2 separate regions of the Homo sapiens genome follow, and region 2 is linked to region 1. The links are contacts of gene promoters, found by promoter capture Hi-C in blood cells and fetal thymus (Javierre and others, 2016). All regions are on one chromosome and are shown on one strand. Each heading gives the region's core, a stretch centred on a gene start or on the middle of the fragment in contact. The rest is flanking DNA. Distances are from core to core; before and after follow the strand shown.

The links. Contacts are between HindIII fragments. The CHiCAGO score rates a contact against its expected background, and 5 or more counts as called.
Region 2: a contact is called between a fragment that was not itself captured here and the fragment with the promoter of R3HCC1L in region 1, in 1 of 17 cell types (total CD4 T cells). The highest score is 8.0, in total CD4 T cells.

The regions. Positions count from the first base shown.
Region 1 is chr10:98,133,374-98,136,073 of GRCh38, reverse strand. It overlaps R3HCC1L (R3H domain and coiled-coil containing 1 like), which reads right to left and starts at 1,417. Exons shown (of 10, transcript NM_001351015.2): 1 at 1,368-1,417. RefSeq lists enhancers at 719-858, 201-990. The HindIII fragment of the contact is 1,235 bases long and covers 603-1,837 here.
Region 2 is chr10:99,723,825-99,726,524 of GRCh38, reverse strand. It overlaps COX15 (cytochrome c oxidase assembly factor COX15), which reads left to right. Exons shown (of 9, transcript NM_078470.6): 5 at 2,402-2,569. Among named protein-coding and RNA genes, the nearest start is that of COX15, 7.0 kb to the left of the region's middle. The HindIII fragment of the contact is 6,673 bases long and covers 1-2,700 here.

The sequences.
Region 1 (2,700 bases), core at 168-2,667:
AGACCAATCTGGGCGACATAGTGAAATCCTGATTCTACCCAAAAAAAAAAAAAAAACTGATTGCAGAATTAGCATTCTCTGTAAGGGGAAAAATAAGACAATAAGCAACTTGCTTAGTCTCAAAGCTTAATGTCAAAAAAAATTAAACAGATGGGATATTTGGCTATTTATATTCTGAATTTCAACTGTGACACAAGACACAAGACCTGCTGGGGACAGGTATTAGTTGTAGTACAACCATATCTGAGGAACGTTTACTGCTTTATGCTTGTACCTGTGTGATACTGAAGGAAGGTTATAACAGCAAGAGATAGTTGTGTGTGCTGAGGAAGAAGAGTCTAAATTCTGGTGGGCCTTAAAATCCAGATGAAGTTTTAAATTGACTCCACAGGTGGTAACGCCCTAAGGTCACCTCTTCACTAGGAACCTGGCATAAAAACATCTGTATGGTTCAGATTCGTTTCCAAAGACACTTTCCCCCTATTTATTAACTAATTTGATCTTCGTATAGACATGAACCTGGTTTTAAAACTCAACTGACCTAGACTGGAGACTGGGGGATGGCAAGGTTATACCCGAAACATACTTTAGAGTTCAAAGCTTTCGCAGGAATATCACTTCTGCTGAAGCCCACAACCCTGGAAGGCCGCAGGGCAAAGAACATTAACCCCACTTTTCAGACAACGAAACCGAGGCTGCGCTAAACAGACTACTGTACAAAAGATCACAGGTCCAGCCAAGTGGCGGACTGAGACTTCCCCCAGGATATCAGACTCCAAATCCTGTGCTCCTTCCCGTACACAACTGAGAGGGGGCTGCACTCACAAACTTTAAAGATCGGACTTGGGGTTTTTCGCAGGCCTGCCAAGAAAAAGCAGGAAGTACATGCTCCTTTATAGATTGCTCACTCCCAGCCCGTAGCCCGGGGCTCCCGGGCAGCGGAGGAGGCTCAAAGGCGAGGCTCGAAGCGAAGCCCGGAAACCGCCGGCAGCCCTGGGGGCCCACGGCCCCGCAGCCCCGAGGGGGTAACCAGGGACCCCGCTCAATACCTGTTGAAACCCAGAAAAAGCACGTCCTTTCCGCCAGGATCATTTGGGGCGAGCGCCCAAAGCGAGCACGAGCCCCAGTGAGTGCAAAAGAGCCCCGGGAGGGTCCCTCTCAACCGCGGGCCCGCAGGGGTCAGAAGGCGGGAGCTTCCCAGTAACCTCCGCCCCAGGCAGGGGGCGGCCCCTCGCGTCACATGAGGAAAAAAAATACCAGCAACAAACGACGGAATGGAAGTCTTGTCCCGGGCTGTGAAGGGAGAAGTGGGGATTAAAAATCCTAGCTTGAGGTACAGAGGGAGGGGATACGGGGCTGGTTGTTACCGGCGCGCTGTTGCTCTCCGCTTCCGCCGTCTCCGCGAAGCTCTATCTCTTCCGCTCGCGCCGCTGGGGCGCGCGTCAGGCCTCGGCTCCGCCCCCAACGCCGTGGGGCCTTCTGGGGGTTGTAGTTTCCGCGAGGCCCGGCCGCGCCCACTGAGTTCAGGTCACGTAGGGGAGAAGCTGGCAAAATGGCGAGTGCCGGAGAGCATTTCTGCTCCTGTCCCTTCAACCCTTCCTCATTCCTCTCGGCTATATACGTGCGCAAATCTCCTTACATTCCACTCAATTATACCATCTCACTTCCTCCGTTCACAGCCAAGTTTTTTGAAAAAGATAATCTACACTGTCTCTACTTGCTCATCTGTGTTCACTCCTCATCGCAGCTTCCGCCCCCATGGAAAATGCCTTGTTGTCATAAGTGTCCTTGTTGCCAAACTCATTGGAGGTATTTCCGGACTCATCTAACTCAAGCTTTAGTCATTTGACGCTATTGGGCATTATCACTTATTTTCTATGACACTATCCAGGTTTTCCTTCTCTGAATTCATTCTACTTTGTTTCCTCTAACTTACCTCTAAAATATTGGTGTTTTCCAGAGTTCTTAAAATTGGGGTGGGAGAGGGGACACTCCAGTCCCTTCTCACCTGAGCTCATTGTTTGTATTCCCAACTTCCTAGACAAGACCTCTCCTCATCCATGCCCACAGGCATCTCCAGTGTCCTTGAAAAGTGAACTACTGGGGCCAGGAACAGTGGCTCATGCCTGTAATCCCAGCACTTTGGGAGGCCAAGGCAGGTGGATCACCTGCGGTCAGGAGTTCGAGACCAGCCTGACCAACATGGTGAAACCCTGTCTCTACTAAAAGTACAGAAATTAGCTGTGCGTGGTGGTGGGCACCTGTAATCCCAGCTACCCAGGAGGCCGAGGCAGGAGAATTGCTTGAAGGAGAATCGCTTGAACCCGGGAGGCGGAGGTTGCAGTAAGCCAAAATTGCACCACTGCACTCCAGCCTGGGCAACACAGGGAGACTCCGTCCCCCAAAAAAAGAAAAGTAAACTACTACCCCTCCTCCCTACTCATTAATATTCACTCTTTAACCTGATTCCTCCTTTCTCACTTCCTCTTCCTCCAATATTCAAATGGTCACCAAATCTTGGAGATTCTATTGTAGCAGGACGAGCCGCAGACAAAACCTCTCAGACACCAAGTTGTAGAACGAAGGGCTTTATTCAGCTGGGAGCATCGGCAAGCTACTGTCCTAAAATCCAAGCTCCCCGAGTGCACAATTTCTGTCCCTTTTAAGGGCTCACCACACTAAAGATTTCACATGAAAGGG
Region 2 (2,700 bases), core at 91-2,590, 1.6 Mb before region 1:
GCCTAGCTTCAAGCCCCAGCTCTGACACTTAGGGTAAATTACCTAACCTCTGAAAGCTATGATTTCTTTACCTGTAAATGGGGATAATAACAGTGCCACCATGTACAGTCGTGTAAATATTAAATGAGATAATCCATATTTAAAGTACTTAGCTTAGTGCCTGGAATCAGTAAAGCACTCAGTAGTATATTTTCATGTGCTGCAAGATGTAGTTTGTTTCCCATCATGGGTGTCTCCCTAGGTTCTTGTCTCTCCTCTTTTTCTAACTTGTCTGCTATAGGAAAGAGGGATCCCTGTGCTAGAATGCCACAGAAGCATACAGGAAAATTCCAAAAGAGAGAAACACTTTGTGGGATGAAGGATTGTAGAATACCCATGTAGCTGAGAGATATTCAGATATAAATGGCAATTAAAATCACGTAAGTTGAGCGCCTCTTAAGGAAAGACTCCCACAGTTAACAGGTTAGTACTGCTAGAATGATGAAAAAAAAAAAGTTGGGTGAAACTGAGCAACAAATTAAAAGAGAAGACACATAGGAGTATTTGGGTCAAGGTTTAGAGATCCTAAAGGAGATTATCAGGGCATCAAAGAAACATCAAAATTTAATCAGGAGGAAGCTAATTGGTTAATTTAACTCAGAAGTGGTAAGAAAATGAGTCAGTTAGAAGGGATTAAGGCCGGGTGCAGTGGCTCACACCTGTAATCCCAACACTTTCGGAAGCCAAGGTGGGGGATCAGGAGTTCCAGACCAGCCTGGCCAACATGGTAAAACCCTGTCTCTACCTAAAATACCAAAATTAGCTGGGCATGCTGGCGTGGGCCTGTAGTCCCAGCTATTTCGGAGGCTGAGGCAGAAGAATTGATTGAACCGGGGAGGCGGAGGTTGCAGCGAGCTGAGAGGTTGCACCACTGCACTCCAGCCTGGGCAACAGAGCAAGACTCTGGCTCAAAAAAAATAAATAAAGAAAGAAGGGATTAAGGAGGGAGATGAGAGAGAAGAAATAGAGGCAGCAGAAACAATAATCAAAGTCTAATAGTAACCAGAGAAAGGCATGTAGAACAAAATGAAAGTTAACATTTTAGAATTAGAAAAACAAGCCAACACTGAAAACACTATTAGGGAGGCAGAAATTAAAGATGTCAGATAAGGTATGGGAGAAGAAAGTGGGCTAGTGAATCAACTGTGTACGTCTTCATCTTTCAATGTCTCTTGCAGATGAAATCAAGGTAATTAGAATATCCAGGGTAATCTTGAAAGGGGAGAGAAATGCCCAAAAAGATTTCCTGAAGAGTATATATTTAGAAGTGGCAGAGTCCACCTCTTTGACCTGATTCTACTGGCAAGTGGGAGTGAAAGGGCTGTCTTATTTCATATGATTGGAACTAACAATTGTTTGGTTAATTGAAAAAGCCAGTTAAAGCAGAGAATCATAGAATATGATACATAACATAAACTTTTAAACTTAAATCTGTACGTTCATTACCAACTTTTACAAAATCAAGGCCTTTTCTTTGACTATGCGTCCCCAGATTGGCATTCAACTGCAGGTTTCTTATATCCCCATAAACTGTGGTTTTGCTTAAAGCGGAGTGGGAACTTAGATATTTGCAAAGCGATCTGCATGCAAAACCTTATTGATTTTTATGATTTTCCCCTGAAACTTTTATAATTGTCTTATTCCAACCTAACTTGACAGTAGATGTTTTTAAGCATTTACCTTTATTAAGTTTCTCCAAAACATTCAATCTAGTTTTATGAGATATATCCATGGACCTTTTTTTTTTTTTAAAGCTCATCAGCTACTGTTAGTGTTAGTGTATTTTATGCATGGCCCAAGACAATTCTTCCAGTGTGGCCCAGGGAAGCCAAAAGATCAGACACTTCTGATCTAAATAGTAGTTAAGTATTAATGGTGATATGTGAAGAACTGTGGATAAATCATGAATCTTGGGACACTGCGTATTGGGGAGGGTATGGAAAGAGGAGGGGTGGGGTAGAGAGTACTCCTGATAGCTCATTTCCTCAGTAAAGTTGAACAGATCAGGCCGGGTGTGGTGGCTTACGCCTGTAATACCAGCACTTTGGTAGGCTGAGGTGGGCGGATCACGAGGTCAAGAGATTGACACCATCTGGCCAACATGGTGAAACCCCATCTCTACTAAAAATACAAAAATTAGCCAGGCGTGGTGATGCGCAACTGTAGTCCCAGCCACTTGGGAGGCTGAGGCAGGAGAATCACTTGAACCTGGGAGGCGGAGATTGCAGTGAGCCAAGATCCCGCCACTGCACTCCAGCCTGGTGACAGAGTGAGACTCTGTCTCAAAAAAACAACAAAAAAAAGAAAGTTGAACAGATCATTTTAACCTTGTTTTGTTTGCTTCATCTCTTGGGGGTTCTAGGGTCTGTTGGGATGGTATATGGTGAAAAGTGGACTAGAAGAAAAATCAGACTCCCATGACATCCCTCGGGTCAGTCAGTACCGCCTTGCTGCCCACCTGGGATCAGCCCTGGTTCTTTATTGTGCCAGCTTGTGGACCTCACTGTCACTGCTACTCCCTCCGCACAAGGTAAGAGTTGTGTGCAAATATCTGTGTTCAAGACCCCGCTTTTGGTTCTTTTGGATATATATCTAGAAGTAGAATTGCTGGATCATATAGGAGTTGAATATTTTGCCAACATTTTCTATTGGCAAAGGTGA